2 separate regions of the Homo sapiens genome follow, and region 1 is linked to region 2. The links are contacts of gene promoters, found by promoter capture Hi-C in human tissues and cell types (Jung and others, 2019). All regions are on one chromosome and are shown on one strand. The core of a region is centred on a gene start or on the middle of the fragment in contact, and the rest is flanking DNA. Distances in the headings are between cores, read along the strand shown. Region 1 overlaps LOC105371525 (a long non-coding RNA gene). Region 2 holds the start of RNF222 (ring finger protein 222).

Region 1 (6,652 bases), core at 732-3,231, 300 kb before region 2:
GCTTGAGCCTGGGAGGCGGAGGCTGCAGTGAGCTGAGATTGCACCACTGCACTCCAGCCTGAGTGACAGAGTGAGACCCTGTCTCAGAAAGAAAGAAAGGAACACAGACAACTGCCCACTGAGAAAGTACAGCGTGGACAGCAAGGGGGCCCTGGGCCAGCGCTTGAGGAACCCCACCAGCCTGGCAGTGGACCTGAGCTGGCGAAGGAGGCTGAAACGGGGCAACAGAGAGAAAGAGGCGAAACATCTGGTGAGTTCAATGAGAAACTTGACCATCTGTGTCTAGTGTGATTGTGGGTCATGCAAGGTGAGGACTGGAACAACTAGGATGTCACTGGCACCGCAGCAAGACTTACGTCAATGGAGTGATGGAGAGGAACCCAGAATGGAATGAGCAAGAACTGAGTGAGGGGAAGAGACGAAAATGGGGAATGTGGAAAAACCTTTCCAGAAGCTGGTCGTGAAGGGAAGGAAGGCAGTAACTGGAGAAGGTCTTGTGTTGGAGAGGGTTGGTTGGTTTGTTCTTTCAGTGGGAGAGACCTGAAATGTTTAAATGTTGATGGGAAGGGTCTGGTTTGGAGGAAGCGGTTAAATATAGAAGAGAAGCGAGTCACCCATAGTATAAGGCTCCTGGAAGCTGGAGGCTGAAAGTTGACAGTGAAGAATGCCATGAGGTGGAATGGGGAGGCCATGGCAAGTGCCACATCTTAGCAGGTGCGTAGTGAGAAAAGACACAGCCCCTGAGAGACAGGCTGAGACTCACTGGTCCCTGGGGCCACTTCCGCTCTGACTTCCAGTTCCAGTTCTGGTTCTTCTGCGTGTCCTTACAACAACCTCCTTTTTCCCGACGATATGTGTTCATTCAACAAATATTTATGGGCCACCTACTACATGCTAAGCCCAGTCCTGACAGCTGCAGAGAGGGCAGTCAGCAAGACCGATGCCCGTCCCTACCCTCAGAATCTTTTCTTGCATCCGACGAAGCTGAGTGACCAATCCCTTTGGCAATACAGATGCCCTCCATTTGGATTGGTTTATGAGAGAGCAACAAATAGAGGCAACAGATATGAGGGTCAGAAGATAGTGCACTTCCCATAACAGGAAGGGGGCTCTTGGACACAGCTCCTCTTCTGGAAGGTCTTGGGGGCTTTGTTGCGGGGAGGTGTCCAGATGTGTCTCTGGGGTAACTGGATGCAGAGATTCGCTCTCTGCTGTGAAGGTGCTGAGATAGGCACGTGCCTGTGCTGAATCCTATACAAAGAAAGCGAAAGAAACCAACAAATTGACCCCCCCCACACACACACATAGAAGCATCTCCACTGTTTGTTTGCTGTTGCTGTTCTTTTCTTTTTTGGTGTAGAAATTGAGCACATACACAAAGGAATCTCCACTGCCCATCACTCTAGCTGCTGCTGACCTCTCCTCCAAACACTCCTATGTGCTCCATGTGTCCCATTTGACTACGAGTCACATACTTTCTCTAACATCTTAGTTTCAGCTACTCAAAACCAGCACTGATTCTGGTCTTTTCTGTTATGTGGGCCCATACATTTCTTTCTATACTTCAGTTTAAAATGAATTTTTTTGGCCAGGCATGGTGGCTCACACCTGTAATCCCAGCACTTTGGGAGACCAAGGTGGGACGATCACCAGAGGTCAGGAGTCCAAGACCAGCCTGGCCAACATGGTGAAACTCTGTCTCTACTAAAAATAAAAAAATTAGCTGGGCGTGAGGGCAGACACCTGTAATCCCAGCTACTCGGGAGGCTGAAGCAGGAGAATCACTTGAACCCAGGAGGCAGAGGTTGCAGTGAGCCAAGATCGCGCCACTGCACTCCAGCCTGGGCAACAAGAGCAAAACTTCTTCTCAATAAATAAATAAATAAATAAATAAATAAATAAATAATAAAATAAATAAAATAGAAGTTTAAATCTCTTGTAGTGAAAAGAATCTTATCTAAGAGACCCAGAGTCAAGTCCTGCCCCACCTTACCTGCCTGCCACCCTGGGCCAAGCACCCCATCAAGGACATCTCTGCCTGTATTAGTCATCTATGGCTGCATGACAAATTACCCCAAAATTTAGTGACTGCAGTGGCCAATCTCCAAGATGGCCTTAAAGACCCTCACCTCCTGGAACTGGTGCCCTTGCATAGTCTCCTCCCTGATGGTATCACAGTAGCTCTGAACAGAATACAACGGAAGTGACTGTGCGGCTGCCAAGGGTGGGTCATAAAAGACAGTGCACCTGCCCTTCACTTGCCCTAAGCATGTCCCACTGCATTGCATTGGGATTTCCAAACGAATACACAGGCACGTCCCTGGCCTAGCCCTGAGGAGCCAAGGAGGTGGAAGCAAAGCCTCGGCTGAGTCCTAAAATATGATCCTCCCCTCTGAATGCACAGGGAACACAGGTCTCTGAGGCATGTGCCATGAAGGACACTCACCCTTCAGAACAGGCTTTCGAACCCTCCAGGATGCCAGGGAACACATCTGATCAATGTATCCACACTAAAGCGGAGCATCAGACAGATCCCCAGGCCCTATCTCCCTCCTGGACCACACTGGAGGGCTTTCTCAGGGACCTCCTGCAGCCAATGCCCACCACTGTGGTCAGCTAAAGGAGGAGCCACAGTTCCCGCGGGCGAGGCGTGAGGGGACACACATCCGAGCTGAGCCTTGGATGGGGGAGGCTGGGCTCTAGACTCTGTGCTTCGCCCCCCACTCCCACCACCTCTGCTGACCAGCTGTCTCCGCTGCTGTCTGTGTCTTCCCCTTGCGGAGAGCCCAGAGCATTCTCCAGCTCCCTTTCCATCAACAGCCTCCTGGCTCTCCCGCCCACGCACTTCCCACTTCCACTCCTCCTCTCCCCTTCCTGGCTGAGTGCCCTCCCCCAGGCCTGCCGTCTCTCCCTGGTTCTCATTTGAACATCATTTTTCTTCTTTTCTTCCCTTTTGCTAAATGTCCTTGCTTATGTGATGTGGCATTGAGTATACATTTCCGGGCATATTCGTGTGTGTGTGTGCGCGCGCGCGCGCGTGCACACGTGCCTGACCTGACCCATGCTCCGCGGTGGTGGACTGAGCTGTGAGATAGAAGGCTGGGAGCTGGGAGTGGGAGATGGTGACAGAGACCCAGTCCCTTTAACATCTCCTAGAAAAAGGCTCCATGCTCTGGCCCCTGTTTACCTCCAGCCTCACGTCTCTCCACACCTGGAGGCACTCAGCCCCATCTGGTCTCTCTCCCCCGCTTTCTCTCCTCAGCCCGGGGTTTCCGGTTCTAATCCCCATCCATCATTAGGCTAACTACTGCTTGTTCTTTAAGATTCAGCTCAAGTGTCGCCTCCTCCCAGAAGCTTCCTTGAGCCCTTGTGTCTGGCTGGATGCCCCGTATGGCAGCAGTCCATTGCCTCATCCAGGACACGCTGCGTGAGAGCCAGGATCTGCTCTATACTGTCACCTTCCTCTGGCCTCCTGCACAATGTCTGGCCCAGAGTGGGAGCTCCCTTGCAGGGTGGTGCACGCAGCCATGCATCAGGTGTGGATGCTGGGGACAAGGCAGAGCAGAAGAAAGGAAGAAAGAAAGTTTGGGGAGAGAAAAATTGTGTGTGTGTGTGTGTGTGTGTGTGTGTGTGTAAATTTTATTCTATTTTGTTCCCCCAGATAAGCTATGTGGACTGAACATTTTTCCTGGCAGGTTAAGGTTCAAGGGAATTTAAGGGATGTTGGGGGCCATGTGATCTTTGGGATTGGGGGTGGACAGAACCCCAGTGGGACTATGCCCCCCACCTCCTACCCACATACATACTGGCGCCACACTAGGCTGCTTTCTGGAAAGAATGTGAGTTATCACTTAGTTTCTAATCTTCCTGGTTTAAGGCCAGAGGCAAATACATTGGCAGCTCAGGCCCTCGCTAATTATCCTCCCCACCCCAAACAAACGTTGGGGTGAACGGGTGAAGGGATGGCAGCCCCGCCCCCAGCTCCCTGCTCCCCCAGTCAATCTCTGAGCCCCTTTGGTTTCCGGAGCAAAGTTGCGGGGCAGAAGGCTGGGAGAGAGGCTGGAAGGGGCTCGAGCCAGGCAGGCTGCATGCTCCAGGGGCTGACGCAATTGGGGAATTTGACTTCTTTTTATCACATATATCATTTTGCCATATATGGTCACCGAGAGCTACTGGCAGCGAGGCCCAGGTCCAGATGGTGGGCTCCTAGAGTGAAATGAGCTACATACCAGCCCAGAACAAACAGACCATCGCTCACTCCGCTGGACAGGTGGGTGGGCCAAGGGAGGGGTTATATATAGTTCTGGTCACATTCCTTCACTCATGCATCTTGGCCCCCAATTCACAAACAATCTCCATTTCTGGCCCTTTTTACTGAATTTGCTAATTGCTATTCTTCTATAACCAAGGGAACGAAAAAAAATCCCAGAAGGAATGTGGGGGTAGAGACACGCAGGCCCTCCTGTCCCTGCCTTGATCCGCAGCCCTTCCGCTCCTCCCCCACCTTTGCCTTCCTCCCTGGCAGGTCCCTGAAGTCTTTCCCCTCCTCACCACCCCCAGAGGGGCCTCTGCTGCTGACTCTCCTTCTTTCTCCCCTCGCCAACGCCCCCGCTCTTTCCTGCACCCCTTCAGCCCAGGTGAGCTGCCCAGGTGCAGACCAGCCCCTGAGGCTGAGCAAGACTCCAAGAAGTGTGGAGTCACCACAGACAACATCCCCCAGCTCCCAGAACCTTTCCTTGCCAATGGTTAGAGGCTCACCCTTCCCAGCTGCCCCAACCAAGCAAGAGATGCTCTCTCCAGCCTTCCCAGGGTGCAGTCACACCTGGCCTGAAGGTAGCAAAAATGGCAACACAGGAATCCAGCCCCTGAGATGTTAACAGACTCAGATAAATATTGTTGATCCCCAGAAACCCCACCAGAAACTCTCCTCTGAGCCCCTGGGCCATCTCCCACACACTGTCAGGAATTTACTTTCTATTTCTAGCCTGAGGCAGTCAGGATTTCCCAGGCTTACACCTCCAGCCCAGACCCTCCCCTGAGCGCCAAACTTACTCATCAGAGGTGACACTGTTGACCCACCAGGGCGGCGGTGCAAGCCTCAAATATAAACCAATTGGACAGGGTTTAGAGTAGTTCTCGAGTGGTAGGGGCAAGCTTGGGGATGCTCGCAGGAGCAGCTGCACCTCCGACGTCCCAGGCAAGGTAGGCCACCAGCCTCTCCCATGATGTCCTGAAACCATCCTCAGAGAAACCACACTCTGGGCAACATACGGCTTTGGTGACCGCTGTCTTCTAATTCACTCCACATAACAGGAATGGTTCTTCCAGCATTGCACTCCCTGTCCCTCTAGCACAGGGGGACTCAACCCCCACTACACAGGAGAAACACAAGGGAGCTTTTCAGTAAGACTGGTGTCTGAGCCCAGTCCAGAAATTCTTATGTCGTGATCTCAGGCAAGGATATAACACGTATCCCAGGTGATTCTGGTGTGTGCAGACCAGACTGACTCTTTCTGGATTGTCTGACCTGAGACCACCAGCTCCTGATTCCCCAACCTGGGGCATTCTCCGGTCTCCTAAGTAAACCCACTGGCCAGAGTGCTAAAAGGGTCTCTTGTTGGAGGATTAGGATGAGCCTTGGCCTGGGAGTTGGAACCCTAACTCCTGCCTGGCTCTGTCCTGAATGACCAGGGGCCCTGCTATTCATGCTTCTGATTTCTTTTCTTTCTTTTGAGACAGAGTCTCACACTATTGCCCAGGCTGGAGTGCAGTGGCACAATCTCGGCTCACTGCAACGTCCGCCTCCCAGGCTCAAATGATTCTCCTACCTCAGGCTCCAGAGTAGCGGAGATTACAGGCAACCATCACCACCACGACTGGCTAATTTTTGTATTTTCAGTAGAGACAAGGTTTCACCATGTTGGCCAGGCTGGTCTTGAACTCCTGACCTCAGGTCATCCACCCACCTCAGCCTCCCAAAGTGCTGGGATTACAGGCATGAGCCACTGCGCCCGGACTATAATTTCTTAAAACCCAGTTTCTCTTCAACCACAAAATCAGGAGGTAGAGAAGTTTAATAAAGATCAAATAGAATCGTTTATAAAATAGTTATACTGCTGAACAATTGCTATGCACTGAACCATGCTTGGCAAGGAAGACATGTTATTTCCTTTGGTTCTGTTACTCTGCCCACTTTAAAGATAAAAGAACTGAGGCTCAGAGAGGCTAAATCCCTTGGCCGAGGTCCCACAACCACTATGTGGGGAAGCTGGAATGCAATCCCAGAATTGTGTTGCATAAGCAACACCATTGCCTTCCATACCACTCAACTATGAAGGTACTCACTGCCATTTGTCTTTTCCTGGGAGGTCAAGGCTAAACCTGGCAAGACAACTCCAAGAGGGCACTTCAGGTGGTGCAGAGAAACGCCCTTGGCACAATCCTTGATTTGACACAAGCAACGTGGTGTTCCTCTTGTCCCCATTGTGGGCCACCCAGAAGTGGTTTTCCATGCATGCTCCTTCATTTAATAAGAGCACAAAATTGCCGTTGGTCCAAAGATTAGGTGGAGAACGCACAGGGAAAGAGGCCAGCAGCCACTCTCTGTTCAGCAGGAAGGAAAAATAGAAAAGGAGGATGGCTGAGTGAACAG
Region 2 (6,533 bases), core at 2,481-4,980:
TAATAATAAGGATGATTTCGATGATAATCGATACAGAGAGATAAATGAAGAAATATATTTATATATATATTAGATAGACGAAGAGATTGGATAGATGATAGATAGATAGATAGATAGATAGATAGATAGATAGATAGATAGATCTATGGAGAGATTGGAGAGAGAGATTAGATGGATAGATGGATGGATGGATGGATGGATGGATGGATGGATGGATGGATTAATTGATAGACTAATGGAGAGATAGATAGGTAGATACATAGATACACAGAGATGGATCAGTGGAGAGATTAGGTAGATAGATCAATGGAGAGATAGATTGATTGAAAGATAGATGATTGATTGATGGAGAGATTACATGGATGGATCAATGGAGAGATAGAGATTAGATAGAGAGATGGATAGATGGACAGATGGACGGATGGATCAATGGATAGGTTGATTGATGGATAGATGGAGAGGATAGAGAGAGAGAGATTAGATAGATCAATAGATACATAGATCAATTGAGATAGGTGGATCAATGGAGAAACCAGATAGACAGATGAATTGATTGACTGATAGACAGATAGACAGACATATAGATAGAAAACACTGACAGAGCCCCTCCTGTGTAGCAGGTGTTGTTCCAGGCACATTACTTGCATTCATTCATTTTATTGTCACAACAACCCTATAGAGTAGGTACTATTATCCCCATTTTCTACAGATGAAGCAACTGAGGCGCAGTTTCTACAGATGAAGCAACTGAGGCACGGAAGGATTAAGTAACCTACCCAAAGGCACATGGCATTTTCTCTTTAGTCACCAACACACATAAACACACATAGAGCACTCGTGAATGCTCATGCACTGGTCTAATTTCCCAGAGCTCCCTACCATCAAGTCCTATAGTGTAGTTCCTCCTGGCTAGTATACTTGTGCTCTCAACCTTTGCTGATAACTAATTCCTTCTTCCTGCCAAAATCCAACAGTCCACTTTCCCAGAAACTTGCTAGATGGCTAGAGCTGACCTGAAAAATAAATTCAAGTTAAAGTGTCTCTGGCTGATGCATTTACCTCCTCAGGTAAATGTGTGTGTCCGTGCCAACATATATAAGTATACACAATTTTTTAAGTGGAATTCTTTTTCTTTTTCTTTTCTTTTTTTTTTTTTTTTTTTTTTTTTTGAGACAGAGTTTTACTCTGTCGCCGAGGCTGGAGTGCAGTGGCGCCATCTCAGCTCACTGCAACCTCCACCTCCCGAGTTCAAGCGATTCTCCTGCCTCAGTCTCCCGAGTAGCTGGGACTACAGGCACATGCCACCGTGCTCGGCTAATTTTTTCTATTTTTAGTAGAGATGGGGTTTCACCGTGTTAGCCAGGATGGTCTTGATCTCCTGACTTCATTATCCACCTGCCTCAGCCTCCCAAAGTGCTGGGATTACAGGCTTGAGCCACTGTGCCAGGCCAGAATTCTTTTTTTAGAACACAAACCAAGACAGACAATGATAATAAATATTTACATATTAAAGGTAATTTTCATAGTCAAGCTTCATGACAGGGCCAGTGGAAAAGATATTGGTGCCTTAGGAACTTTATATCACCCCATAAATCACATCACAAAAGTCTAAGGATGGCCGGGCCTGGCTCCGTCTCCTCTCTGGGGGACACACAAGGGCTTGATACTGAGGTATTTGGGGCACCTTTTCAGGAATCCCCAGAAAGCCCTAGGCAGAGTCATGAGCCACATTGTTGAAGGGGCTTAGAACTTTGCAATGCGCCCCTTGGAGATGCCAGTGGAAGGAGAGAAATTTGGAGAGCCCTCTGGGATTAGACTTGCTGGATGAAAATACAGAATGCCCACTTAAATTTGAGTCTCAGATAGAAAAGGAATACTCTTTAGTATAAATATGTCCCAGAGGGCCGCCACAGTGGCTCACGCCTGTAATCCCAGCACTTTGGGAGGCCAAGGTGGGCAGATCACCTAAAGTCAGGAGTTCAAAACCAGCCTTGCCAACATGGCGAAACCCCATCTCTACTAAAAATACAAAAAAATTACTGGGGTGTGGTGGTGCACACCTATAACCCCAGCTACTTGAGAGGCTGAGGCAGGAGAATCGCTTGAACCCAGGAAGTGGAGGTTGCAGTGAGCCGAGCTTGTGGCCACTGCACTCCAGCCTGGGTGACAGATCGAGACTCTGTCTCAGAAAAAAAAAAATCCCAGATATTGTACTGTATTGTACTGGACATATTTATACCAAAAAGCATTCGTTGTTTGTCTGAAATTCTAATTTACCTGGGCATACTGCATTTTCATTTGCTAATCTAGGACCACCTGGAACTCCCAGGGAAAGAACAAGAGAGACTGTGACGACGGCTTGCACTCACGGATCTCTGTCCATGGTGAAGTGGCCGAGTGCACTGGCCTGACTGTCCTCCCCACCAGCTTCAAGGTGTCCATTAAGCCAGGGCCATGACTGATCGGACAGAAGAGGGGTCATCCTGTGTCATCCTATGGGGTCACACACATGCTGGGCTGTGCCTTGGACCCAGTAACTTACTTTTTCAGAAGAAAACTGGTTTCTTGGGGACCTCCTGAGAGGACTGGGAGGGAATCCTCCAAAATGATTTCCAGTTCCCCGAACTTCATTCCTCCATTATTCTTGATGACTTTTTCTTTTTCTTTGAGACAGTCTCACTCTGTCATCCAGGCTGGAGTGCAGTGGTGCAATCTTGGCTCACTCACTGCAACCTCCACCTTCTGGATTCAAGCAATTCTTGTGCCTCAGCCTCCCGAGTAGCTGAGACTACAGGCTTGCACCACCTTGCCCAGCTAATTTTTGTATTTTTAGTAGCAACAGGGTTTCACCATGTTGGCAAGGCTGGTCTCGAACTCCTGGCCTCAAGCAGTCTGCCCGCCTCAACCTCCCAAAGTGCTGAGATTACAGGCATGAGCCACCATACCCAGTGGATGACTTTTTCTCTAATCACAAAAGAAACATACATTCAGGGTGAAAATGCAAACATCACAGAAATATAAAACTTAGAAAGTCTCTCCAGAGATAACTGCTATTAACAGTCTGATGTGTTTTCTTCCAGCTTTTCCTCTATGAATATGATCATGTATTATTATCTTCATAAATAGAATTGTATTACACAGGCTGTTCTGAAAGTTGCTTCCATTTATCATGATGCCGGGGACTTCTTTCCATATCTGTGTGCATTCCTGCTTCACTGGTCTTACTCGCCTCGTTCTTTATGCCAGTGGTGCTGGGTCTTTGGAGTTCTAAGCGCCTTTGGGTGTTCCATGAATGACAAATGCACACAGGCAGATCCCACAAATATATGACTCTGAGTGTCATAGACTTCCCGAGGCTGATCTACTACTGACCCCTTCACCCTGTGCATGGTGTGAGGATAGGGGTGTGGGGGGAAGATGGGGATCACAGAAATGGGTCCAGGAGGGTGGGAAGGACAGTGTGGGTGACTTTCCTATTGATAGGGAGACCCATGCCTGGGGAGCCTCAGTCAAAGGGGTCCTGGGTCACTGCCTCCACTGTGAGACCCTCTGACTCTCCTGAGCACCCACCCCTGGGCTCCTCCTCAAGCTGGGGGTTCCTCTCCTGGCATCCTCAGCAAGATCACCTGACTCCAGCAGCTGCCAACCCCCTGGGCAACGCCAAAGCCTCCTGGCCTCAAACGGGTTGGGCGACATTCACTTCCTCGCGCTGTCCTCCCGACCTGCTCTGTCATTAGGAATTGCCTCGGCGGTGGCGGTCACACTAACAGCAACAGGAGGAGATCGTGCTGCTGCTCAGCACCTCGGGGTGGCTCAGATCTGCTGGAGGCCCCAGGAGGGAAGGTGGATGCTGCTCTCTCCGGTCCCAGCTAAAGTGAGTCTAGGGGCCTGGATGGGCGTGGGGAAGGAGCTTGGCAATGTTGGAAGGTTGCCAACATTGGAAGGATGCAGGAGAATGAGAGAGAGAGAAATTGAGAGAGAGAGAGAAAGAGATACCTGTGGGTGAGCAACTAGTCACAGCTAAAGCTATAGGACCTTGCACTGGGGCTCCAGGAGGGAATCCCAGGTGCCTGGAAGTATCATTCTGTCCCACTGGCTCCTGTGCTGAGGTGGGGATGGGGGGTGTTTTCTCTGGGGTGGGGACACCTGCCCCCACACTCTGTTCCGGAGATGGGCTACTGCTGTGGGGGAGGCTCAGTACTGGGGCTTCCCAAGGTCAGCTCCCTTGGGCCAGCCATTGCCTTCCCCCTGCCTCCCAGGTGGCCAGAGGGGCATCCTTGTTTAGGGTCACTCTAAACCTAAAGAGGAAGGAACTTTGGGTAGTCACTTTTCTAACAGTGCTATTTCTTCTATTCCTTTGACCAAAGTCTGAAGACAAAGTCTTAAGCTCTGAGCCTCAGGTCCCTTATCTGTAAAATGAAGATAATCCCTACGCCCCAGCCTTGTTGTCAGGATCAGAAGAGGAAGGGATGCAAAATGCCAAGCATATAATTAGGATTCAATAAATGGTCGCTGTTGTAAATAATAATAATTATTTATTATTAGCTCAATACTGGTCCCACTTCACCTAGGAATACTTTCCAGCCCTCCTCTCCCCTCAGTTTCCTAAGGCACCAACAGGGATGCTTTGGCACTTACTGCATTCTTCTTCAACTCGTTTGTGCTCAAACTAGAGTATGTTCCTTGCATTTCTTCTGTTGCCCTCTCCCTCACCCCAGCATCCAAACAGAATCATACCATAAGAGGAACTCAAGGATGGGGAATGGAATGGGATTCAGAAAGCGAGAGAGGCAGAGGGAGGGGTCAGGGAAAGACTGAGAAAGGGAGGCAAGAAGGTGGGGAAGGAGGTAGCATCGTCCAGGTGTTGACGGCGTGGCTCTCCGGAAGCACGGGACGGGGGAAGGATTGCCCAGAGAGGCCATCGTTGGAAGCGGGAAGGACTGTCCAGAGAGGCCATCATTGGAAGGGGGAAGGATTGTCCGGAGAGGCCATCGTTGTAAGAGGGAAGGATTGCCCAGAGAGGCCATTGTTGGAAGGGAGAAGGATTGCCCAGAGAGGCCATCATTGGGGCCTCGGATGTCTTCTGCACTCCCTGGGTCCTTTTTACTTTTCCTCTAACTCGGATGAAAAGTAGAGGCTCTCCTTCTCCTTCCCTGCTCGTCTCAAGGAGGACGGTGCTTTCTAACTTGGCTAATACCTACTCACCCAATCTATCAGCTGATTCTAACAATGTTCTACCATCTACGGAATCTTCTCTGTCTCGGTTAACTCCCTCTCCGTCACCTTCACCGGTCACCTCAGGTGACTCACTTCCCTCTCTCTAGACATGGATCTGCTCATCTCTGAAACTAGGAGCTTCAACTAAGTGATCTCTAAAGTCCTTTTTCCCTCTAGTATTCCTTATTTGCTCTTCTTGTCAGCCTTGGTCTCTACTTCTCAGTTATCCAAACAACTTAAACCATTGATCATCAATACTCCTTTCAAAAAAATATCTTTTTCAAGAAAACTTATAAATGTCCACTAGGCTCTAAAGTTTTATAAGAACTTCCTTGGCCACTACTTATCCCCAATATGTAAGTCAGTACCTAGCACATAGCAGGTGCTCAATAAATATGTGTCGAATAATTAGACAGATGGATGGATGGATAGAAGGATGGAACTCTTGCCATCATACACTCTGGGGAGTTATGAAATGCAGGGAAACATATTAATAGTTGATTGGCTTAAGAAAATCATGCCCATCCTGATTATAATGGCTGTTTGGTATAAACATTTGCAAATGTGTTATGAAATAACTACCAAGAAAGATTGGAATAACCATTTAAATTATTATCCATTGCCCATCACTTATCTTATCCATTGTCATCTTGTTCCGTTATTCTAATTTGAGGTGAGCTGCCCTCTGTCAAGTGGGTGCGATTTTTTAATCATCCACATACTAAGGAACATTTGGGGATGAGAGGGAAGGAAAGGAAGGCAAATGCTGTGGCTGCCTCAAGAGCTGTGACAGGGGTCTCCAAGTCCCCTTTGGGAGAAGAGGGGACAGGACATGGTCTGTCTTAATAATGACAACTGCCATTTACTGAGCACTTACTCTGAGCCAGACTCTTCACTCACATTAGCTCACTTAATTCCCCCAACAACTCTCCGAGGAAGATGATACCATTATTATCAATTTCATCTTATGGACAGGAAACTGAGACTCAGAGAGGTTAAACAACTTGGCTAAGCTTATACAGACAGTAATGGGTAGATCAAAGATTTGAACCCCCATCCCCCATCCTGGGGGCCACATTGACCATCTCAAAGACCAAAGCTAGAAACTCCCAAAGAGGTTTGGGGGCCTCCTCCAGGATCCCAGATTCCTTATCCCACCTCCAAATATTTTTGCTCTTTGACTATGGGACATTTTCAACTCGGCAAAATAGATTTGGAGCCAAGCCAAGAGAGGGAGGGATTCTGAAAGATTTGTGATCTTAACAGTTGTCCTTCCTACACATTGATTTTGTTCCCACTATGTCATCTCTCAGGTC

What was found. The method cuts DNA at HindIII sites, captures the fragments that hold promoters and counts their contacts. A contact is called where the count stands out against the background at its distance.
Region 1: a fragment that was not itself captured here is called in contact with the fragment with the promoter of RNF222 in region 2 in 1 of the 25 tissues and cell types used here (lymphoblastoid cells).

The regions. Positions count from the first base shown.
Region 1 is chr17:8,695,045-8,701,696 of GRCh38, reverse strand. All of the region lies in intron 2 of LOC105371525 (a long non-coding RNA gene), which reads right to left. Among named protein-coding and RNA genes, the nearest start is that of CCDC42, 46 kb to the left of the region's middle. RefSeq lists enhancers at 4,012-4,306, 4,127-4,636, 4,637-5,147. The HindIII fragment of the contact is 7,889 bases long and covers 1-5,925 here.
Region 2 is chr17:8,395,024-8,401,556 of GRCh38, reverse strand. RNF222 (ring finger protein 222) reads left to right here and starts at 3,730. Exons shown (of 3, transcript NM_001146684.3): 1 at 3,730-3,862. The HindIII fragment of the contact is 8,302 bases long and covers 1-6,533 here.